5 separate regions of the Homo sapiens genome follow, and all the other regions are linked to region 1. The links are contacts of gene promoters, found by promoter capture Hi-C in blood cells and fetal thymus (Javierre and others, 2016). All regions are on one chromosome and are shown on one strand. The core of a region is centred on a gene start or on the middle of the fragment in contact, and the rest is flanking DNA. Distances in the headings are between cores, read along the strand shown. Region 1 holds the start of MPC1 (mitochondrial pyruvate carrier 1). Region 2 overlaps TBXT (T-box transcription factor T). Region 3 has its middle 12 kb from the start of LNCDAT. Region 4 has its middle 38 kb from the start of LNCDAT. Region 5 overlaps RPS6KA2 (ribosomal protein S6 kinase A2).

Evidence for each region. The method cuts DNA at HindIII sites, captures the fragments that hold promoters and counts their contacts. A CHiCAGO score of 5 or more calls a contact.
Region 2: a fragment that was not itself captured here is called in contact with the fragment with the promoter of MPC1 in region 1 in 2 of 17 cell types (M0 macrophages and neutrophils); the score reaches 8.4 in M0 macrophages.
Region 3: a fragment that was not itself captured here is called in contact with the fragment with the promoter of MPC1 in region 1 in 1 of 17 cell types (M0 macrophages); the score reaches 5.0 in M0 macrophages.
Region 4: a contact is called between a fragment that was not itself captured here and the fragment with the promoter of MPC1 in region 1, in 1 of 17 cell types (neutrophils). The highest score is 5.7, in neutrophils.
Region 5: a fragment that was not itself captured here is called in contact with the fragment with the promoter of MPC1 in region 1 in 1 of 17 cell types (naive CD8 T cells); the score reaches 5.2 in naive CD8 T cells.

Annotation. Positions count from the first base shown.
Region 1 is chr6:166,381,046-166,385,879 of GRCh38, forward strand. MPC1 (mitochondrial pyruvate carrier 1) reads right to left here and starts at 1,895. Exons shown (of 5, transcript NM_016098.4): 1 at 1,761-1,895. The coding sequence starts at 1,831. It overlaps MPC1-DT (MPC1 divergent transcript), which reads left to right and starts at 2,133. Exons shown (of 1, transcript NR_189630.1): 1 at 2,133-4,834. RefSeq lists an enhancer at 1,038-1,217 and silencers at 1,578-1,677, 1,828-2,567. The HindIII fragment of the contact is 5,196 bases long and covers 809-4,834 here.
Region 2 is chr6:166,157,838-166,162,671 of GRCh38, forward strand. TBXT (T-box transcription factor T) reads right to left here. Exons shown (of 8, transcript NM_001366285.2): 6 at 4,610-4,786; 7 at 3,000-3,129; 8 at 1-751. The coding sequence ends at 478. Among named protein-coding and RNA genes, the nearest start is that of TBXT, 7.6 kb to the right of the region's middle. The HindIII fragment of the contact is 1,276 bases long and covers 2,074-3,349 here.
Region 3 is chr6:166,177,258-166,182,091 of GRCh38, forward strand. No RefSeq gene overlaps it. Among named protein-coding and RNA genes, the nearest start is that of LNCDAT, 12 kb to the left of the region's middle. The HindIII fragment of the contact is 2,335 bases long and covers 1,587-3,921 here.
Region 4 is chr6:166,203,468-166,208,301 of GRCh38, forward strand. No RefSeq gene overlaps it. Among named protein-coding and RNA genes, the nearest start is that of LNCDAT, 38 kb to the left of the region's middle. RefSeq lists an enhancer at 1,926-3,125. The HindIII fragment of the contact is 385 bases long and covers 2,323-2,707 here.
Region 5 is chr6:166,518,425-166,523,258 of GRCh38, forward strand. All of the region lies in intron 3 of RPS6KA2 (ribosomal protein S6 kinase A2), which reads right to left. Among named protein-coding and RNA genes, the nearest start is that of MIR1913, 11 kb to the left of the region's middle. The HindIII fragment of the contact is 8,410 bases long and covers 1-4,834 here.

The sequences.
Region 1 (4,834 bases), core at 645-3,144:
ATGTTATCCTTAGCTGTACCTATTAGGAAGGCTCAGTATCCAACACATTAGTAAAAAGCTAAAGTAATATTCAAAGCTGTAGAGAAACTTAACAGCAAGGATTGAGAGCATACCCTCAGACTGCTACCTTGTTCACATTTTTACTACCATTAATCTGATACATTGCTGTGCTCCACAGTGCTAAACACCCATCTTAATTAATAGTAGTTCTATTTAAGCATAGAAATGTCTTTTTTTGAAAGTCAGAAGTGAAGCTTCTGTTTACAAGTTTACCATATGGCAGACTGAATTATTTTTCCTACCCTACTGCTCTATAAAAGTAGAAGTAAACAGTATTTGCAATAAAATTCAGGATTTAAAACTTTTTTATTGCTAAAATCAAGTTGCCTTCATACTATCCCTTTTGTGTGGTTATAACAGGATTTATTCCTCCTCAGCTTTCATCTCTTTACCTCTTGACCACACTATTAACTACCGAAAAAAAACCGCAGCTGTACACGTACCTAGGTTTTAAAATCATACACTGAAAAACTAACTAAAATTACACTCCTAAATAACCTAAAACTGCTTCAAAGTTATATTCAATATTTTGAAATAAAAGCAAGCGCCCCAAGATGAGAGGTGCAAATAAATTATAGAAAGTGTATTTTCAGGCTTTCCAACCGCGAATGCTCTTTGTTTCTAACTGGAAAGGAGGAGTTAACAGAAAATAGAACAAGAAGAAAAAGTATGACCTTAGAGACACGTCACTTTACTTTGGTTGACAGAATTTCGTATATAAAAACATCTTAAATTGTACTTCCTCCCAAGCTTAAAGTCCTTAGAATGAGAAAACCGAAAGGCGAACCCAAGGCCAGCACATTTTATTTCCGCTGTCCCAGAAGCGCGCTGGGCGCACCCGAAGCTCCGCTCCAACAGCGCCGCGCCGCGCTCTCAGCAGCGCCTCCCGCTGGCGTCTCCCCACCCCACACCCAGGTCGCCGCCTCTGGCACACCTGGACGGCCGCAGGTGACCGGCGACCCACTCCGAGGATCTGGTAGAAACCGGCCAGGAAACCACTCCCGCCCGGAGGAGCGAGCCACTGTCAACTGGCCCGGAGGGACGTGCCCACTGCCAACCATGGGAGAGGAACGAGCCTCTGTCACCCCTGCCGGGTCACCCTGCCCTGAGGGGCGCCCACTGTCACCCCTGCCGGGAGAGGCGTCCCCATGGTCACCCTGTCCTGAGGAGCGCCGTCGCTTTCGTCCCTCCAGGTCCCCACTGCCACTCTGGCCGGGAAGGGCGTCCACTGTTATGCCTACCAGGAGAGGCGTCCCCAGTGTCACCTTGGCCAGGAGGGACGCCCACCGTCACCCACTCCCTGAAGGGGACTCAATGTCACCCCTGCCTTGAGGGGCGCCCACTGTCACCCTGCCGGGAGAGGACACCCACTGTCACCCCCGCCCTGAGGAGCGCCCACTGTCACCCTGCCGGGAGAGGACACCCACTGTCACCCCCGCCCTGAGGGGCGCCCACTGTCACCCCCGCCCTGAAAGGCGCCCACTGTCACCGGCTCTCTACGCCGTCCGCTTCGGGGTGTGGCGGTCCGGGAGGGATCCGGGTGGGGCCCCCCTGACAAGCGCACCCTCTCGCCTGGGCCCCGGCCCACCCGCTGCCCGGGGCCACCGCGTCCTCGCGGCCGCCCTCGTCGCGGACTGCACGGGTCGCAGCCTCCCGGGAGCCCCTCCGGGTTGCGGGGTTCGGCCTGCGGCGCTCGTCACCTCATGAGGTAGTCCCGGAAATCCTTGCTTCGGACATAGTCCGCCGCTTTCCGCACCAACGCGCCCGCCATGGCTGTGCCGACACCAGACCCCGAGTGGTCCCTGCCTCTGCTGCCGCTTCCCAGAGCCAATGACACCCCGGCCAACCCCCCGGCAGCCGACGGCGAGCCAGCCCGAAGGCCCGCCTCACGACACCCGGCCACGCCTTACGGCCGCGCCGCGCCGCCCGGCTCTCGGCCAATGACAGGGCGCAGGGCCAGAGATGGTGGCGCGGACTGGCTGGCTCGTGCCGCACGCCTCCTTCCCGCCCTCGGTGGCGCACGGGGGCGGGGCCCGCTGCCGTAAAACGGCTGGGGCTGGGCCGGGGCTGGCAGGCGGTTGCTAGGCTCCAGCGGCTCCCGGCCAGCGGGGACGTGGAGGTGACATTTCTCTGACCCACAGGACTGTGGGCGCCCTGCCGAGCGTCGCGCGGTCTTGGGGCGACCTGCAGTGGGGCCCCTGCGGCGCAGCGCGCGGTGGGACTGGCCGGGTTCCCGCGCCGCCCAGGGCCTGTGTCTGCGCCGGTTCCTGGCAAGGGCACCTTGGCCGGGCGGCCCGCGTCCCCTGCGCTTCCCACACCCACGTGGGCGGACCCGGCCCGCAAGCTGGGCCAGCCTGCGGTTTCCGGGCACTGGGGAGTGCGCAGAGCCCCGGGCCAGCGACCGCAGCCGGGGCCCCTGGCTTCTCCCGAGCACTTTCCCCCGGACCGGTCCCTCCAGGGTGGCGGGCGGCACCCAGGGCCGGCGCTCCTCACCAACGCGCTGCAGCTACGGGCTCAGGAGGGAGCCGCAGCGTCGGAGGAGGAAAGCATTTAAGAATAGCACAAAGCCTTAGGCTCGAGGAAGCGTGACTGCTTACGTGTTGAAAATAAAGGTTCTGTAAGTCCCACCGCGGGTGCATATTGAAAAGAAAGGGATCATTAGCACGCGACCCTCGCCTAGGAGTATATAAACCGCAGCACGACTTTCGGATCACAAAGGCAGAGAAAAGAACACATTGAAGGCTTTTGCTCACTTTTCCAAGTTGTTTCGTTTCGTTTTGTTTCTAATGTGGACGATCATTTAAAATGCCTCTGGTGGCCGGGCGCGGTGACTGACGCCTGTAATCACAGCACTTTGGGAGGCCGAGGCGGGCGGATCACCTGAGGTCAGGAATTCGAGACCAGCCTGGGCAATACGGTTAAACCCCCTCTCTACTAAAAATAAAAAAATTAGCTGGGCGTGGTGGCATGTGCTTGTAGTCCCAGCTACTTGGGAGGCTGAGACAGAAGAATCGCTTGAACCCGGGAGGCGGAAGTTGCAATGAGCCAAGATTGCGCCATTGCATTCCAGCCTGGGCAACAGAGCAAGACCCTGTCTCCAAAAAAAACAAATAAATATAACAAAATTCCTCTGGTAGCCGGGTGCGGTGGCTCACGCCTGTAATCTCAGCACTTTGGGAGGCTGAGGCAGGTGGATCACTTGAAGTCAAGAGTTTGAGACCAGCCTGGCCAATATAGTGAAACCTCATCTCTACTGAAAATACAAAAATTAGCCAGGCGTGGTGATGCGCTCCTGTGATCCCAGCTACTCGGGAGGCTGAGGCGTGAGAATCGGTTGAACCCGGGAGGTGGAGGTTGTAGTGATCCGAGATTGTGCCATTGCACTCCAGCCTGGGCAACAGAGGGAGATCCTGTCTCTAAAATAAAAAATAAAAGAAATGCCTTTGGTGAACAGGAATTCTCAACATTAGTGACCCGCAGTGTATTAGTGTTAATAATGGACATCCCCTTTGATCCAGCAAGCCCATCTAGAGATTTCCTAGGATAGACAAGCCAGTTTGTGCAATTTCATGTGTACAGCATTGTTTTTAGTATGGAAAGATTAGAGTTTACATATCTACCCATAGGGAGAGAGTTAAATAAATTATGGTGCATCCGTTTAGTGGATTAGTATACAGCCATTAGGAATAAAGGAATTCTTTATGTGCTGATATGAAATATCTTTTTTATTTTCAAGAAAAAAACCCAGGTTCTGAATAGTGTATAAAGTATGCTACTCATTGTGCATAGGGACAAAGAAAATATATACATTCATGTTTGCAAAGATACTGGAGAAATGTTAGTAGTGGCTGCCTCTAAGGATGACCAAGAGTGACACTGACTTTTCATTGTATCTTCCTTTGTTCTTTTTGAAATTTGTACAGTCTACTTATGCTATCTATTCAAAATAAGTGGTGTTAAGAAGAAATGCCTTTGAGAATGAAAATGGTAAGCCCTTGATTGAGTGGGGTTCATTTTCTGTTAGGATCGTGGTCTCTATTGGTCACAGCTGACCTTGATCGTCACTGAAAGTGTATCTCATTACACAATATTGCAGTCTTGAACACCAGGAAGGTTGTTCTGTTCCACATGAACATGCTTCATGATGGGGTTAGGAATGTACAACCTGTGAAAAGTGAGGGAGTCTTGATTATTAATAATAATATTATTAATAGCTACCTTTTCTTGATCATTAGGCACTATTTGTACATTATTTCTCCTTCTCACATCAACCCAGAAGGTAGGTATAAGGAAACTGAGTGGCTTCTTGAATGAAGCCAAACTGCTCTGCAAGATTGGTGGAAAAGGAGACTCTCCATGTGCTAACAGGTTCCTGGATCTCATAGCTGCTCTGTCTTAGCCCTTAATATGTTTCTTTTCCTCATGGATGGTGGTTCTGAAACCTGAGCTGTCAGAAGAATCCTTGGCAGATTCCTAGATCCCAGCCTCAGACTCAGAAGGTCTGGAGTTGGGGCTGAAAGCTGCGTGGCTAATGGGCACTGCAGGTGACTCTGAGGCTGCTGGTCAGTGTCTAGCACTTGGAGAAACTCTACTGAGGGCACCTGCCCCTAATGCACTGTTGCCACCACTGGGCTGGGGTCAAGAGGCTTTACTTCCCACATTTGGGCCTCAATTGGGACCTCTGAGCTTTCCACTAGTTTCCGTTCCATGAAGGAGTACAAATTGGAGTATGTAAAGACAAAAGACATACGTAAGTGGATAATTTGGGTTTGAA
Region 2 (4,834 bases), core at 1,462-3,961, 220 kb before region 1:
TCCTCAACTATGATTTTATTCTGTCCTTAACAGCTCAACTCTAACTACTTGAAAGCAACAAGGAAGAAGATTAAGAGTGTGCTTTTTATCTCACTAAAGTAGGACTGGTGGAGTTTACAAATTCTGGTGTGCCAAAGTTGCCAATACACTGTATGAGAAATAAACCAAAAAAAGTTTCTGGACCCTGGCAAACATTTTTTCACCGTCAGTGAGGTTGGGCCAACTGCATCATCTCCACAGTTGGGTTCATCTGTAAGCCACCTGGGACAGCACCGCTACTGCAGGTGTGAGCAAGGGATGCTGGGGCTCTGGGGAAAGGTGCCGTGTGCTCCTCCACTGCTTTGAAAAGGAAGTTACTGAGGCTGCATTTCCTTCTTAACCTGAGACTGCCACTGGGTACCTAGTAGGTCAATCCAGTCACCACTGGCTGCCACGACAAAAAGTCACTGCATCTTTCGGGACCTGGGCCTTGCTGCTTCACATGGAAGGTGGCGACACAGGTGTCCATGAGGCTATGAGGCGGCCTTGGGCTGCGGCGTCGTACTGGCTGTCCACGATGTCTGTGGCCGCGGCCGCCCCTTCGTACAGTGGGGATCCCGAGGAAGAGGGCGCCGAGACCGGATGGGTGAGGGGTGTGTAGTGCGCGGGGGAGCCCCGGAAGAACTGGGCCCCCAGCCCGTTGGACACGGCTGCTGCCTGGGAGCCCGGGGTGACGGCGCCGTTGCTCACAGACCACAGGCTGGGGTACTGACTGCAACAGAAAGACACCAGTGAGCAGGGCCTGGGCAGGGGCTGCAGGCCAGCTAAGGATGGAAAAACACACCAGAAATCCCATTCGGAGTGACTGTGTAATATGACAGTTTTCTTCTTTCAAACAGGTCATTTTCTCCAAATTATTAAAGGACTCACAAGCACATTCTGTGATGTATAGAAGTTATTGTCGTATCTATTAATAAGAAACAAAATCATCAGGAAGATGACTGAAAAGATTATTCACATATTCAGAGCTCATGAAAGAGCGCTGTTAAGTTTCACTGCGAAAGACTCATACCAGGCCAGCCGCAGTGGGTGATGCCTGTAATCCCAGTACTTTGGGAGGCCAAGGCAGGTGGATCAGCTGATGTCAGGAGTTCAAGGCCAGCCTGACTAACATGGTGAAACCCCGTCTCTACTAAATACAAAAAATTGGCTGGGCATGGTGGCACATGCCTGTAATCCCAGCTACTTGGGAGGCTGAGGCAGGAGAATCGCTTGAACCCGGGAGGCAGATGTTGCAGTGAGCTGGGATTGCACCATTGCACTCCAGTCTGGGCAACAAGAGTGAAACTCCGTCAAACAAACACACAAAACAGAAAAGAAAGACTCAGACCAGTAGTTTTGCACTCTCATTCAGAATAAAACTTTTCAGATAGTCTCAACCAAAAGTTACTGAGGATGGGCTTAAGTACACATGTTTTTATCTAGGACACCCCACCCCCACCACCGCAGTGATTCTCACGATGAAGACCAGCCTCTCCTCAAACACTAAGCAGCAGACATTCCTTAGAGTAACTCCAGTACAGACACAATTCCCTGCACTTTGTCCTGTTCAGTACATAGGTGTGCTAGCATGGTGCCCAGCAGCAAGAAAAGCACCTGGCAGTCAGACTAGGAAGCCATTCCCAGTTCCGCCTTTACCTAGCTGTGTCACATTACACTTTGCCTGAGACTACTTATAGGCTGTGTTTCTCAAGGCATAAAATGAGGAAGGTGGAAATGACTATTGAATTCTCCAGTCTAAGCACATGGAAGTGGATAGCATTCAATTATGGTAAGATTTTATTTTGGGAAATAACCTTGTCTTTCTACAAGTGAATAATGAGACCTTATGTTGTATCACCATACTGTTTTAAACAAGTCTGAGTTAATCAAGGCAGATTTTTATGCCATTTTACAAATGAAAGCTTCAGGTTCTAAGATGCCCAATTAGAGCCACACTGAGACCCTCGGGTGGGGCCTCTGTCAACAGCTTGCAGTGTGCGGGTCATCTGATCGGGTGCAGGCTTCTGGGGCGATGCTCTTGGAGCCCCTGAAAGCTTCGCTTGTTTACGCATTGTTGCTCTGTTTCTAACCGCGGGCAATTGAATTCTTATTATGAAGGAACTGTTTTCTAGACAAGAATTAAGATCGCAGGCATATTTTGGTATTCTAGAAAATGAAGTGCATTGCCTTTGAGGTCAAGATCACTTAATTCCAGGCTCACTCTGCTGTGAGCTGGTCCAATCATTTAATATCTCTGGCCCTCCTTCCTCCCTAGAAAGTGAGGGTTGACTTCTAGCTTTGGTATTTTAGGTTTTTATATTCATCCTATGAAGAAATGTAAGACATTTACCAGCCTGCTTAATTTGTAAGCCTTTTTCCCTCTGCATAACTTGCAAGTTGGTAACAAAATAGTCATCATTGTTTACCAGTTACCTAGCACATATATTAAAGACTTCGAGCCTGTATCCATAGAAAAGCCAATAAACTCATTTCCTTCATTTACTAGCTTTTGTTGGAAAAGGTTCCGAAACGATCTCTTTAAGCTCTACCTACTGACCCCAACAACCCTGTAGGAGACAGGCCGAGGCTGGGTTATTTTTTTACCACCTTCCTTTTATATGTGAGGAAACTGAGGCCCAGAGAGGCTAAAAGACTTGTCCATCACGTGAACCAGTAAGTGGCAGAACCAGGATGGGGACCCTGGTTTCATTCAGGGATGGGATAGCGCAGCTCCCATTCCACACCTGGGTTGTAAAGGAGCCCAGTCCTTCCAGCGAACAGACTGCAAACAGGAACTCGGCAGTCATGTCACCTGCAATCCCTGGGCATAGCTGGCTAATAAAGAATTCTAAATAAAGACCCAACCACCCACAGGGACCAAGGAGAATAAGGACTAAGGGCCTATGGGAATGGAAACAGCGTGAAGTCACAGGCAGAGCTCCCAGGATGCTTTGCACCAGGTCCTGGACATACATTACCTGGAGCTGGTAGGTGGGCTGGCATTGTGGCTCACGGGGAGCATGCTGGGATGGGCAGGCATTCCAAGGCTGGACCAATTGTCATGGGATTGCAGCATGGATAAACATGCAGGTGAGTTGTCAGAATAGGCTAAGGGGGGAAGGTAACAAAGTGCAATTATAGATGGTGTCTTCCAAGAACAACAAAGTACAGTGAAATACCACCAATAACTGAAGCTACGTAACACTGAAAACAAAATGTACATGGGATATTAACTGTAGAAAACAATCCATTAGTCTATTTACATGGTTATCAGGGGCAAGATTTATTGCCAAATATATGTATTTGAAAACATACCCTGGTAAACCCAAGCTTTTTCCCTTATCATCATTATCAGTAGATGCCCTGTAGACATTGAATCTTACTTACAATCACTGACTTGGAATTACTTATCTTTAAAAATAAATATAACTTTACCCTGCCTTTTTACCAGTGATTACTTCATAAGAATGGGCGATAGAAACCATTACTCCAGGCAAAATTAGAAATAAGATCTTCCTGCCTCAGAGTCTAGCCTCTGGTTGAACAAGTCCCAGTGACTTCCTAACCCAATAAGGTCCTTTCATTTCAAATCAGCTTTAATTGCTTAATTGTTTTATGGTATTCTTTAGCTATTTTCCTTCTTTTGGAGCCAGACAAAATTAAGTCTAGACATATACAGTGTTATAGAGAGAATTAGGCCAGGGGATCTTTATGGTCTATCCCAGTGTTCCTAATATTGGAGCATGCATCGGAATGGCCTGGAAGGCTTTTAAAAGCACACTGGCCAGGCGTGGTGGCTCACGCCTGTAATCCCAGCACTTTGGGAGGCCGAGGCGGGTGGATCACGAGGTCAGAAGATCGAGACCATCCTGGCTAACACGGTGAAACCCCGTCTCTACTAAAAATACAAAAAAATTAGCCAGGCCTGGTGGCAGGCACCTGTAGTCCCAGCTCCTTGGGAGGCTGAGGCAGGAGAATGGCGTGAACCCGAGAGGCGGAGCTTGCAGTGAGCCGAGATCGTGCGACTGCACTCCAGCCTGGGCGACAGAGCGAGACTCCGTCTCAAAAAAAAGCACACATTGCCGGGCCCCACCAAGAGCTGCTGCCTGTCAGTCTGGGGTGGGGCCTGAGACTGTGCCCACTCTCGGGTGGTGCTGAGGCTCTGGCCTGGGCACCGTATTTGGAGAATCACTGGTGTAGTCAGGAATTCTTGAGCCTGGCTGCCCATCATTGTCACTTTAGAGAGGTTCATAGAAGACTCAAACCTGGGCTCTCCTCCTAAGGATCGACCATGGTTCTGTGGAGAGGCCCAGGAATCTGTCATTTTCAAAACCTGGAGCAGCAGCTCTGAGGCCTGTGCAAGGATGCAAGCCTCTGATCTGGGTGTCCGTGGTTGTTCCGCCAGCAGCGGCAGTGGCGGAGACATAAATTGAAGATCTTCTCTTGAGCTACTAAAAAACTGGGCTTGGGTATGTGTTCCAGAAAACCGTCTCCATTTTTTTAGATTCTAGACTCCTGCAGAATGCCTTTCCCAAAGTGGTCTTGCAGCCACCCACCAACCCCTGGCAGAATGAGGCTGAGGACTCACTTGGAGAATTGTTCCGATGAGCATAGGGGCTGGGGTAGGGTGAGGACCGGTGGCTCCTCAGGGTTGGGTACCTGTCACAGCTGTGCGTGGAGGGGAGGGAGAGGGCACCTCCAAACTGAGGATGAGGATTTGCAGGTGGACACAGGGTGCTGGTTCCAGGAAGAAGCCACCCCCCTGCTGTGAGAAAAGACAGTGCTGAGTAACCTGCATTAGTGCTCCCTCCAT
Region 3 (4,834 bases), core at 1,504-4,003, 200 kb before region 1:
GATTGTATTCTACTTAGGCTATTTTCTTTTCTTAAGTCTTTTCTCGTCTTCTGATCACATGGGGAGGAGGAAAAGCGGCAACGTTTTCTTTTTTAAAAAAATACATGCCTATGATAGCAATAACCCACCAGGTGTCACAGTAGGCATTTAGTCATTGCCGATGGAATGGAAGAATACATGACTAAATTTTTAGTGACTCCTAGCTCCGTCCCCACAGCTCATTAACTTTTTAATTTTCCCAAGTGCCCTTACAATTCAGTCCACAGGAATATGTAATATTGAAGATTACAATTCAATTTTTGATGTGATTTGATGCAGGAGGGGATTTATTCTGGCTGCTGTGTTGAGAATGACAGGGACAAGATTGGAGGTAGGAAACCTAACTGGGCCACTGCAGCGATTAGAGTAAGACATGTCATCTCCTTGGCCCAGTGAGGTGGGCAGGGAGAAGGGGTCAAACCCTAGGCAAACTTCAAAGGTGGAGCCCACAGGGTTTGCTGGACAGGTTGGATGTGGAGGGTTGAGAGACACGGCCATGTGGAGGGGCCCATTAGGCCGTGGGATCTCCTGGCACTCAGGGTTGAGGTCCGAGCTGGTGATACATCCAGGAGTTGGCAGGACAGGAGTGGTATGGAGTCATGGAACTGGGTGAGCTCACCAGTGGAGGGCTCACACCTGCATTTGCAGTCACAGGTCTAATGTGAGCCTACAGAGCTTTTAGGGTTGTCCAAAAATCACATGTCGGCCTACTTTAGAAATAAGGATCATAGGGCTGGGTGCGGTCGGTGGCTCACGCCTATAATCCTAGCACTTTGGAAGGCCAAGGCAGGTGGGTCACGAGGTCAGGCGTTCGAGACCAGCCTGGCCAACATGGTGAAACTCCATCTCTACTAAAAATACAAAAATTAGCTAGGCGTGGTGGTGCATGCCTATAATCCCAGCTACTCAGGAGGCTGAGGCAGGAGAATCACTTGAACCTGGGAGGTGGAGGTTGCAATGAGCCAAGATCACGCCACTGCACTCCAGCCTGGGCAACAGAGCGAGACTCAAAAATAAAAATAATAATAATAAAATTAAATTGAAATAAGGAGCATAAACCTGGGAGCCAGAATTTCTTCCTGTGGGAATCTAGAGCCTTCACTGGTCATCACCAGGTAATAGCACTGGAGATAAACCAGCGGGATGTAACTCAGATCCTCAAGGAAGGCAGAGTAGGAGGAGGGAAAGCTGGAAGGCCTGGGTTCCAAGCGCGTTAAGAAAATTATCCCAGTCATCAAGGACTTTCACAACCTTCTCATGCGGTGGTCTGATGGCTTGCTTAGAGATGAGGAAACCAAGGCACTGGCCGCTTCACTTCTTCCCATGTTGCCAGGGAATGAAATGTAACCCACAGCCTGTCTGGCCAGCTGGAAACTTGGGGCCTGCTCTTTTCTCCCCTGGATCTGTTGAGAAGAGACCAGAACCTTATCTAAAAGGGGCAGGTTTTAAAGTTGAAGTGTGTGGCTCAAATATCTTTAAAATTTTATTTGCTTACAAAGAAAATATGTTTTTGTGCACAGCATTTTGTAATAAACCCAATACAGCCAAGCTTTCCTCTAGCTTTTACATTGCACTGGATGAAGTTGCTGACTTGCATTTTGGTACAAAGTTTAGATATTTTTGTTCTGTTTTTGGCTAAACATTTATAGTTGAATTCACCTGAGTTATTTATAGTTGAATTCACCTGAGTTGAACTCACCTGAGTTGAATTCATGTGAGCTCTATGGCTATGAGCTCTATGGCCCTTATTACTGTAATAAGCCATCATTTTTGAACAATAGCCTCACATTTTCTTGGTGGAGAGTACTCAAATTTAGAGATTAGATTGAAATTAACAGTGGTCTGAATTAATAGATATTTACCAGTTATTAACAGTTAACAATTATTAGAGGCATCTTGTCTTTTTGGAAATCCTTTGTTCCCCCTTTCTTAACCAAAATGACTTTTGCCCCAGTCTGTTGATTCTAACTAGACAGTCAAGAGGGTCTTGCCACCCAAGTCTTGATCTGAGATCAACATTGTGTAGGGAAGCCAAAGTCCTAGTAAAATTAAATTAGTCTTTAATTAACTGACTACTTATTAGTGCCTATTCATCCAGACTCCCTTACCCAAAACTAATTTCCATCCTCCCCCATCCCACCCATGGCACCTCTTCCCACACTGTGTGAGGGCATCATTTTGTGGGTCCCCCCTCAACTGATTGTCATACATGTAACATATTAGACATGCTATTTGAAAATTAAAAACATATTTCTATGCTATTAAAGGAGTTTGTTTAAGAAATAAGGCAAAAGAGTAACTGGCCTCACCATTCTCTTCCCATGCTAGAAGGGAGCGCACATGGTACTGTGACTGAGGACGCGGTTACTGAAAGCGGGGCTGTGACAGGCTCCTGGGAAGTGAACTTTGATGCAAAGGTAGCCTTGCAGTTCACCCCCAGGAAAGCTGTCACAGAGGTCACAAAACAGAATAGCTCACCAGCCAAATTAAGATCCTCAAATCACAAAGTTTAATGTATCCATTTAAACCACATAGTGAGCAGCAAAGGAACACAGGCGGGGCCGGTCCGCACACCTATGTGGAAGGTCCTCACTTCCTCATTTCTGCACCATCCGCACTTTCTGGCTCTCTGCTGCACGGGCCTTCCCTGCCAACGGCATGGGCATGTAGACCAGACCAGGGGTGATGGTTAGAGAATAGTGTCATGAACACATGGACAATATTGCTCTACCTGTCTCCCCACCCTAATCACCCCCACCCCCAGATGATTTTAGAAGGATTACTGGACATCTTTCCATCCATAAAGGAAGTACTGCAGTATGTATCCCTAAAACCTAGGATTATTTTTGGTTAAACATAACCATAATATCATTATCACACCTAAAATTAATAAACAAGACCTCCTTAATGTCATCAAAAACTAGCCAGTGTCCAAATTTTCCTATTTGTCTCATAGATTCATGAGAAAATTGTTATATCTTTTGATGTCCATGTGCAAAAGTTCCTGTAGGTGAATATAAGCCTAGAAGGGAAATTTCTAGGTAGTGTCTGTCTTCAGTATTTTTAGAATATGCTGAATTGTTTTCCAAAGAGGTTGCACTAATTTTATATTCCAGTAACATTGAGGAAGGGTTCCCCTGGCTTTGCATCCTAGCCAATACTCGATACTGTCAGATTTTAAGAGGTTTTCCAGTGTGAGGCGTATAAAAAAAGGATGTCATGGTTTTAAATCACATTTTTCCAATTTTCCCACAAAATCTTTTTGAGTATGCCATGGAATATTTTTTAAAAAACAATTACAGGAGTTTTTCTACAATGCCAGTACTCATCATTTGTCAGCTTTATAAGTAGAAAAACATTCTCCTACTTTGTGACTGGCCTTTTCACTTCCTTATTGATGTCCTTTGTGACCGGAGATTCCCAACATAATATAATCACATATATCACACCTTTCCTTTGCATTTTATGCCCTTTGTGACTTTATCTGAAAGAGCCATTTCCATCCCCAGGACAGTCTTCCATATTCTTTACATTGTATAGTTCTACATTTTTACATTTCAGACTCTAGTCCACCTAGCATTGACTTCCGTGCCTAAGATGAGATAGAGATCCAACTTCAGTGGAGAAAACTGGTCGACTCTGCATCATTGATTGAATCATCAATTGCTTCACCAAAGATCAGCAATAAATCTGACATAAATCATTTCTGCATCTGATTCTGGGCTATCTGATTCTGGGCTTCCTATTCTAATTCATTGATACTTTTATCTGTCCCATTTTGAGTGCTATGTAGCTTTAAATTAGGGCTTGATATCATATAGGACAAGCTCCCACCACTTACTATCATGTCTTATCTATTACAGATCTTTGCTCTTCTATATAAGCTTAAGAATTCGCTTGTCAAGTTCCAAGAAAAATTATTAAAATGGCATTAAATCTCAAGATCAGACTGGAGAACTGACACCTTTTCAACGTACAGGATTTCTGCCCATGAAGGCAGCACCTCTGCTTATTTAGGTCTTTTTTAAAATGTCTCTTAATAATGCTTAATAACTTTCTCCATGAAGGGCTTGCAAATATTTTTCCAAATTTATTCCTAGATAATTAATTTTTATTGCTACCATAAATGGAAACTTTTTCTTCCCCCTCAAGGAGCCTTGCTCTGTTGCCAGGCTGGACTGCAATGGTGGGGTCTTGGCTCACTGCAACCTCTGCCTCCTAGGTTCAAGCGATTCTCCTGCCTCAGCCAACCAAGTAGCTGGGATTACAGGCTCCTGCCACCATATCTGACTAATTTTTTGTATTTTTAGTAGAGACAGGGTTTCACCATGTTGACCAGGCTGGTCTCAAACTCCTGACCTTAAGTGATCCACCCGCCTCAGCCTCCCAAATTGGGATTACAGGCGTGAGCCACCGCACCCGGCCAAATGGCAACTTTTTTCTTTTTTTGAGATGGAATCTCACTCTGTCGCCTAGGCTGGAGTGCAGTGGCGCAGTCTCAGCTCACTGCAACCTCCGCTTCCCGGGTTCAAGCGATTTTCTTGCCTCAGCCTCCTGAGTAGCTGGGATTACAGGCACCCACCACCACGCCCAGCTAATTTTTTTGGTATTTTTAGTAGAGACGGGGTTTCACTGTGTTGGTCAGGCTGGTCTCGAACTCCTGACCTCGTGATCCACCTGCCTCGGCCTCCCGAAGTGCTGGGATTATAGGCATGAGCCACCGCACCCAGCCAAATGGCAACTTTTTAAGTGAAAGCTTTTTATTTTATTTTCCCTCCAAAAAATATTTATTTAT
Region 4 (4,834 bases), core at 1,265-3,764, 180 kb before region 1:
GCGGCAGGCTTACTCCCACCTGAGGTTTTGCACAGGGTCTCCCTGGCCTGGGCCACTCTTCCATCTGATGTTACCACAGTTGGTTACTCTGACCTGTCTTTAATGCCCCTTTCACAAATCTAAACCATCCAGGGACAACAGATAAGGAAAATGGAGTGGAAGCCTCACCACAGATGATGGTGCAGTGCTGAGAAGCATCGGATTCGAGACAGACATAGAGACCTGGAGGCACTGAATGGAAAAAAGGAACAGAGGAGACAAGAACATGCAGACAGAACAACATGGGCTTTGCACAGGTACACGACAAACACAAAATGCACAGCGGACATGCGGCTGCTGCGGGGCAGGGCTGGTATGGGAACAAGACAGGGTGTGTGTGCGTCAAACAAGGCAGAAAAAAATGCAGCCTCGGGTCGCTAGGCATCGCTTCATCCTGTTAAATTCCCCAAAATAGCATGTATCGCTGTCAAACATGAGCATCAGGACTTTTATCCAAACAGGAAAATTTTCTGTTCTTTTAGTCCCAAGTATATGGAGCACACTTATTAATTAGGACATTATGACGGGCTCTGTGTAAAAATGGGAAGTGAATCTCTCAATATGTGTTTAGTGAAATTAAAGGTACATTGAATCTACTAAAGAAAAAAAACACTTAAGCCTGGGAAATTATCTTTGTGTTTTTTCCTAAGTGATTATTATTAGACACCAGAATAGCACCAAACCGAAAAAAATCTCACGACTGAAATATCTCAGAAACGACATTTCAATATATAAAGGAGACATCAATTTTAAGTTACAAGTAAGGAGAAATTTGGAAACAGAACATACAATTTAACTAAGATTAAGTCTTTCAAAATAATAAGCAGCACTCTAAAACTGAAATCAAGAACGATTTTCATGACTATTTGAATTTTTTTAAATTAATGTTGGTGTTTTTTTTGAGACAGGGTGTCACTGTGTTGCCCATACTGCAGTGAACTGGCAGTGTCATAGCTCACTGCAGCCTCAAGCTCCTGGGCTCAAGTCATCCTTCCACCTCAGTCTCCCAAGTAGCTGGGACTACAGGTATGCACCATGACATCTGGCTAATTTTTTAGTTTTTGTGGAGACGGAATCTCGATATGTGGCCCAGCCTGGCCTCAAGTAATCCTCCTGCCTCAGCCTCGCAAAGTGCTGGGATTACAGGCATGAGCCACGACACCTGGCCTAAATATTTCTCAAAAATAAACCAAGAATGATTTTCAAGGCCTAAGAAAAAGACATGGCACTGATGAGATTTTGAAGACTTTTATTAAAAGTAATAAGCATAGTTCATTCACCCAAAACTGACAGTGGAAAATCTGAATGTTTCAAGTAAGTAGAGGAAATTCCCCCAAATGAAGAGGGGATGACAGAGTCCTGAAGTTAGCTACTGGACACCTTCAGCGGCAGACACTGGAAGATTAGTTACAAGAGGGCTCGACAGGCCTGCAGGTAAAACAAACAAAGCAAAACAAACTGAAACAAGAAAGCACAGCCAGGCTCTCTCTCCCCAGCTCAGCAGGAGCTCCAGCCCCAGCTGCCATCATTCCTAGCACTCCGGTAGCAGCGTTACTATTACTAACACTTACGGTATCTTCAAAATCATCCTCCTGGCAACCAATGTGAAGTCACCACCAGGCCCAGAAAGTGGCTGTGACTCTCCCCTGGTGGCCAACACTGCTAGCTGCTGACCTAACTTCCGTTACCCATCCTCTTCCTCACTACCAGGCCCGTAGGTACTGCTGTGGGGTATAAGGTGCGCAGCTGAAGAAAATGCATTTTTCCAGCCCCCTTGTGAGATGGGGTGGCCATATGACCACGCTCTGGTCAGCAGAATGTCAGTGAAGTTTTTGGGTGGAGATTCCAGAAGCTTCCTGAGAAGAGGGCTGGCGGGATGGGCAGGGATCCCCTCTGTCTCAGGCCCTCTGCCGCAGAGGTAGTATGAGGTCAGGAGCAGGAAGCCCCCACCAGCAACAGGCAAGAGCGAGCAGCACCATGGGGTCCCCAAGCCAGCCAGGGACTCTCAGCGACAGGAGAGAAAGGCAAGCCTCTGCGTTCTCGCAAGAGGCTCTTTTCTGGAGGCGGTTTCAGTTTTGCGGTGCTGAATCCAGTTCTGTAAGGGAAGAAAAAGTTATTTCCTCACCCATTGCTAGGTTTATGGCTGAGACACCTATCATAAAAGACAGATAAACAAGAGAAAAGCAGGCGAATTTATTTCATTGTATGTAATTTTTACATGACACAGGCACCTTTAGATATGAAGACCAAAAGGCACAGGGAGGCCTGTGTATCTTTAGGCTAAGCTTGATGGAGAGCGGACAGTGGTGGAAAAGGGTGAGTACACAGAGCGGGTGTCACCTGATGGCAGTGAACTGCGGGAATATGCAAGGTGCCAGATTTCAGGGTCTTGTGTCCCAAACCCCATTAGTGTCTAACTCAGTGTGGATATAACTGCTGGGACGCTAGCAGCGGTCTCTTTGGAAATTGCCAGAGCGCGCCACCGCGGCTGCTGGGTCACTGGGCTTCTGTGTTATGATGGATGCTGTATTCGTCATCCATCATTTGTGGTGTGTTGTAAAGCATCACAAACTGGGTGCCTTTAAACAACAGAAATTTGTTCCCTTACAGTTCTGGATCCCAGAAGCCTGACATCACGGTATCGGCAGGGCCGTGCTCCCTCCTGGGAAGCTTCCCTCCCCTCTTCCCTCTTCTGGCATTGCTGGTGCGTCAGCCCGGTCTCCACCTCCGTCTTCACACAGCCATGACCCCGTGTGTCTCTCCTCCTCTTCAGATGTTCTTCAGTAAGGACATCAGTCATGTTGGATTAGGACCCACCCTGATGACCTCATCCTAGCTCACATCTCGATGTCATCTGCAAAAATCCTATTTCCAAAGAAGGCCACTTCACAGGCCCCAGGACTTAAGATTTTAATGTATCTTTTGCAACAAACACCTTAGCGAAATTTCTTGCAACACACACCTTGGTTTAATGTTCTTGAACTAATCCACTGGCCTCTGGGACTCAGGCATAGCTCTTTGGGCCTCTCAAACTGGCCTGATGTCCTGGGACCAAATTTGCACTGTGCCTAACCTTGGGCTGAGGATTTTTGCCAGAAAGCTCTGGTCTCTCATACCCCAGGCAGGCCCATCCTTCCAGTCCTCCAGGCAAAGCGAATCTGAACTGTGTTAGTTCTAGGCTGTGCCAAGTCCAGGCTCCCTGAGGTTTCTACACTGCCTTTATATTTATAGATCTTAAAAAAAAAAAAAAAAAAAAAAAGGTACTGTTTCTGGTATGGTTTGGCTGTGTTCCCACCCATATCTCATCTTGAATTGTAGCTCCCATCACTCCCACTTGTTGTGGGAGGGACTTGGTAGGAGATAATTGAATCACAGGGGCAGTTCCCCCATACCGTTCTCATGGCAGTGAGTAAGTCTCACGAGATCTGATGGTTTTCTACGAGGAAAACCCTTTTGCTTGGTCCTCACTCTCTCTTGTCTGCGGCTATGTAAGGCATGCCTTTTGCCTTCCACTATGATTGTGAGGCCTCCCCAGCCATGTGGAACTGTGAGTCCATTAAACCTCTTTTTCTTTATAAATTACCCAGTCTCAGGTATGTCTTCACCAACAGGGTGAAAACAGACTAATACAGTTTCTCCCCGGCTTCCCTGAAGACCCACCAGTGTCAGAGGAAGGCGACTTCACAGCCCAGCACATCTGGGACTCAGCTCACTTCAAGGGTAAAAATCTCTTTGAAGTCACATGTTTTACTCAAAAAATCTCGTTAACTTTCCTTTTACTGCTTAAAGTACTTGTGTTTGCTTTCTCGTTGTAAGAATGGTTTTTTGCGCGTATCTTCAGGTGCAGTCAATGCCCAGGAATTGTGCACTACCTGCTCTTGAAGGGCCCTTTTCTCCTCAGTTCCTGGGGGTGCTTCCCCTGCTTGAGAAGCACAGGTCTTTCCTGTTAGGGGTTAGGGTTAGGGTTAAGCCCTCATGTCCCATCCTGGATTTGATCTCTACCACCCTGTGGAATGACAAGAAATCTATTTCATTTAAAAAAAAAAAAAAAAAGTTAAACAGCTTTCAAAAGTAAAAAAAAAAAAAAATTATTTTTTTTTAATTTCTGAAACAATTTTTAAATTAAAAAATTTTATTTTAAATAAATTGGGTTTTTGTCCCCCATTCCTGGCACGCAGCCCCTAAACGCCTTTCCTGAGTGTCAGGGCTGTCTTTGGTGTTGGCCAGGAGCCCCTTCCCATCACACCTGAGTGCCTGCTAACAAAGTAAGCGAGGCTGGGTCCTGGGACAGCCTCAGGATGGGGTGGGCATGAGAAAGACCATGCCAGTAGAGGGTGGGAACTTTCAGCCTCACCCACCTGCCTCTGGGAAAGGGAGTGGGGGTGCTGGTAATCAACCTCTATAAAATCTCTTAATAACTGTATTTGATGAGCTTCCAGGTTAGTAAACGTATCCAGGTGCCAGGAGGGTGGCACCCCCCAGCTGCTGCACTCAGGACCCTTCAGACCTCACCCTGCATATTCCCCACCTGACCGTTCATCTGCGTCCTTTATAACAGGGGCCCCAACGCCCTGGCCACAGACCTGCCTACGTGTGTGTCTATGTGTGTGTGTGTGTGTGTTTGTGTGTGTATGTGTAGACAGGGTCTTGTTATCTTGCCCAGGCTGGCCTCAAACCAGGGCCTCAAGTGATCCTCCTGCCTCAGCCTCCCAAAGTGCTAGGATTATAGGCATGAGCCACAGTGCATGGCCTCTGTTTCTTTTTTATGTTTTCATTTTCCCAACCCATTTTGAAT
Region 5 (4,834 bases), core at 1,425-3,924, 140 kb after region 1:
AAAGGCAAACAAAAAAATATGATTATCTTAAACAAGCAGAAAAAAGGTCAAAAGCCAAAATAAATACAATACCCAAATACTATCATTATGCTTATAATAATAAACAGAGAATCCAGCCATGACAGTGAATGCAACATATTCCAGATTAAACCCATCAGTGCAGGGAAGACGTTTTTATAAGAATGTTCTGTATGGTTGACTCCCCAGGCACAATGTGGCCTAACACAAGTATATGTTGAGTTTAGGGTGGCAGAAAACAGGAAAAGGATGTGTTCATTCCAGGGCAGGGCTATATTACTGCTGACAACACTGTGTAACTGACCATGCCTAGTTTCCATATATGAATGCAAGGACAAACTAAACAAGATGTCAAGGGACAAGGACAGTCATTACACCAAGCAATGCCCTCAGCATATGAAATACTAGGACTGGAAATGGCTCTTCAAGAGGGACTAGGGAAGATGTTCAGGTCTGTGCAAATTCTAGCTTTGCTGGGCAGAGCTGCAATCCACTGACCTCACCATTGCCCACCCTAGGTGGTGTCAGTCATTCATGGCCCATATCCAGGGATGGAATGAGAGAGCTGCAACCATGGATCTGCCAACTGACAGCCATGGAGTGATTCTTCCACTAAGAAACAGACAGTGAAAGCAAATGTTTCATTTTCTGATGCTGAGTACGTTCAAGCCGCCTCTTTGACAGCCAGGGAGTCCAAGGAGTTTTCATTTCTAAGATCTAGATGTATAAAAAAGAAAACCAAGTGAAGAGGTTTCTTCAGAAATGTCAGCAACAATTTCCTGTTGGGTAGTTCTAGACTACTGGAGACTCTGGAGCCAGGCCATTTGGCCCAGGCTATAGCGTCTCTGTGATGTTTATTCTCTGGTACTTAACAGGTTAGTCTGGAGTTGACTGGGGATTGCTACTATAGATGTGAAAAGAATAAATGTTCTCGGCTATCTTGAGATTCGCTAATAAATGGTAGGCACTGGGGATAAGTTAAAATTTCATTGTCCTTCAAATTAGCCCTCTATTTGTGGCCAACCTGCCGCGTTTCGGGTTTGGATGATGTAGTTTCCGTGGTTTACTTTGCTCTGTTCAGCAACCTGTGCCTACTGGTACCAGCTCTAACTGCCATGTGCTCTTCACCTGTCATGGCCCCAAGACAATCCCTGGGGCTGAGATGGTTGTGGAGGCACCAACAGGTTCACCCCACTGTGAAGGGCACACTGGTTTCCTTCCCAGGAAAACACGGGAGGAAGCACTTTGTGAGATTATCCTGGCAGGCATAGGATATATGATATGCAACTAGAGCTACTTTCTGGAACCCCTCTTCAAGGTGCCTCTTTTCAGGCAGCAATGCAGGCATTGCTTTGTGTTTCTGATTTTTAAATGATCTCCACCAATAGACATTATATGTATATTACATTATGTAGTATATTGTGGTGGTTAGTTTTACATGTCAACTTGACTGGGCTAAGAGATGCCCAGAGAGCTGGTGAACCATGATTTCTGGGTGTGTGTGTGAGGGCGTTTCTGGAAGATATCAACATTTGAATTGGTGGACTGAGTAAAGATCACCCTCCCCTATATGGGCAGGCACCATCCAGCCCACTGAGGGCCAGAATAGAACAAAAAAGCAGTGGGAGAGGAATCTGCTCCCTGTTGAACTGGGACATGCATGTTTTCCAGCCCTCGGACATCAGTGCCTGGTTCTTGGACTGAGACTTAAACCATTGCACTCCTCTCCCCACACCAAGTTCTCAGGACTTCGAATTCAGACTGAAACTTATACCACCAGCTCTCCTGGTTCTCAGGACTTTGAATTTGGACTGGAACTTATACCACCAGCTCTCCTGGTTCTCGGGACTTCGAATTCAGACTGGAACTTATACCACCAGCTCTCCTGGTTCTTGGGACTTTGAATTCGGACTGGAACTTATGCCACCAGCTCTCCTGGTTCTCAGGCCTTTGGATTTGAACTGAATGACACCCCAGCCTTCCTGGTTCTCCAGCTTGCAGACAGAAGCTCCTGGAGCTTCTCAGCCTTCATACCCATGTGAGCTGATTCCTGTAACAAATCTCCCTCTAAGAAATGTATATCCATCCCGTTGGTTGTGTTACTCTGGAAAATCCTGAATAATACAGAATTTGGTACCCAAAAGTGGGATGCCCCTATAATAAAACCTAAGAATGTAGAAGTAGCTTTGGAAATGGGTAATGGGTAGAGGTTGGAAGAGTTCTGAGATACAGCTAGAAAAGGCCTATCTTGCCATGAACAGACCTTTCAATGTGATTCTGGTGAGGACTCAGAAAGAAAAGGAGAGCTGTAGAGAAGGCCTACATCTTCTTAGGGAATAACTAAGGAATCCTGAATGCTGATAGGAAGTCAGTATGGACCAGCCATCTCCACAGAAGCCGGCAGCGATTCTCCAAGGCAACAGAAACATGACCCTGCAGCCAACTCAGAGAGCATCAGGGCTGCCCACCCATGTCAGGCCAGGCACAAGAGCCCCAGGGTAGAATGATTTAAAAGTAGGGGCCACTGGTGCCTGGGACTGCAAGGGCACTGCCTCACATCATGGGCTGCCCACCCTCCAGCACTGCTGTCCCTGGCTGTCCCGGGTGCAGCTCTGCCTTGGGCAGACCCTGGTGCCCTGTGAGCCCCAGCAGTTGCCTTCTGGAGGGAGCAGGTGGCAAAGGCTGGCAGTGACTGTGTGGTTCTCTTTTCCCCACCATGGGGAGTGCAGGAGCCTTGGGGGTGTGGCTGCCCTTACCTAAATTTCAAAGGCTGGGGTCCAGGCACAGAACCACTGTAGGGCCATCCAACTACACTGGATTGGGTCACCCAAAGCTGTGGGAGGCCACCCAAAGCTGTGGGGCCAGGGACTTGGAGAGCCAACCCCTGCCCTGCAAAGCTCCGGGGCAGAACCGCCAACTCGTTATGTCCAAAAGGCAGGACCCCTGCTCCAGTGGGTCTGGAGGGCACAGCATCTAGTCAAAGAGGATTATTCTGGAGTCTTGAGGTTCCATGTTATTTTCTCTGTTGGGTTTTAGACTTACTTGGGACCTGTTACTCCTTTTCTTTCCTATTTCTCCTTTCGGAAAGAAAATGTCTGTCCTATGCTGGTCCCACCACGGGATTTCTGAGGCACAGAGCTCGTGTGTTTTCATAGGCTCACAGCTGGAGGGTGACTGTGGTCAGGATGAATCATACCTTGGATCTCACTAATACAGAGAGATCGCAGAGATACTGACATTGGGGATCAGAGGAAACCATATGATTTGGATGAGATGTTGGGCTTTAGACTTGAGTTGATGTGGGAATGAAGCGGAGGCTATGGAGATGGGATGAATGTGGGAAAGATATGAATTTTAGGGACTGGGGTGGAACGCCATAGACTGTGTATGTTCCCCCCACTAAATTCATATGTTGAAACCTAACCCCCAGTGTGATGGTTTTAGGTGGGGCCTCCGGGAGGTGATTAGGTCAGAAGGGTGGAGCCCTCATGCATGAGATTAGTGCCCTTAGAAATGAGACCCCAGAGAGCTCATTCATGCCTTCCATCAAGTGAGGACACAGCCAGAAGATGGCTATGAACCAGACAGCAGCCCTCCCCAGGCACAAAATCTGACACAGCCTGGATCTTGGACTTGTGGCAGAACTGTGAGAAAAAAATTTCTGTTGTTTAGAAGCCACACAATCTATGATGTTCTGTGATATCTGCCTGAATGAACTAAGACACGTATCGTATCATATTATAGCATACTGTTCTGTTCTGTTCTATCTAGGTGATAATACAAAAGAAAATTAAGGTTAAGATAAAATTAAATTAAATGCAATTCTGTCAGCTGCTGTGAAGATGAGCAATGGCTGTGTAAATGCACCTAAGGAAACCACTGTGTTGGGGACGTAGTGGATGCCGCACTGACCGTGCAGTGCCAATAGCTCTGCTGCCACAAACCCACGGGACCTTGGCTTCTGCACACACCTCTGTGGGGGGCTGAGCATACGCAGACGGCCTTGGTGACCTGAAGGCCTGGCAGTCAGAGGCTCGATGATGCTTTGTGGTTGATGCAGCGCAACTGGAGGGATTTTGAAGACTGAGCCGACAGACACACTTTCGCCTGAGACTTACCAGCACTGGAGAGTGCGGGCTGTGCTAGCTCGGTCTCCCCCACTGCGCGGCCATTGCCTGAGACTTCCTTTCTTTACCCCCATAAAGGCTATTGAGCCTGAAATTATATCCCGAGCAGTCTCCCAGATGCAGAATAAAAGTCCTTCTTCCCACAGTATCTTTTAGCTTTCAAAGGTTTAATTCATAGTAAAAAACGGACTTCCACGAGCCATCGTGTGGCTAAACTTTTGGGGGCAAACTTTTTACAGTGAATTACTCCACACATAAAGGAAGAGAAGAAAACCATAAATAATAAGAAGCAAAGTTAACCACACTGATTACCAGAATGGGCATGACTCCCCAACAGGTGTCTTTTTATTCTTCTATACTCAAGTATTTTTTAAAAGACTGATATGGTTACTTAACTGACTTCCTTAATAGAGAATCTTTGTCAGAAAAATCTTAAGCCCATTACTCTTAACTACTTACACTGCAGAGGTATTAAAGATGACAAGTAATGAAAAAAATCTATTTCCTCCTTTTTGAATATCTGTAATTCAAGAAATGCAACTCTGGTAATAAACACATAGAGGACTCCACCATACAGAGGCGGGTGTATCTGTAATAAATCAGATGCCTGTTAGGTAAGGGTGATGTTTATCTGAAATGCAAGAGACAGAGTGAGATCGTACCTTACAAAGGGCTTGAGAAAGACAGAA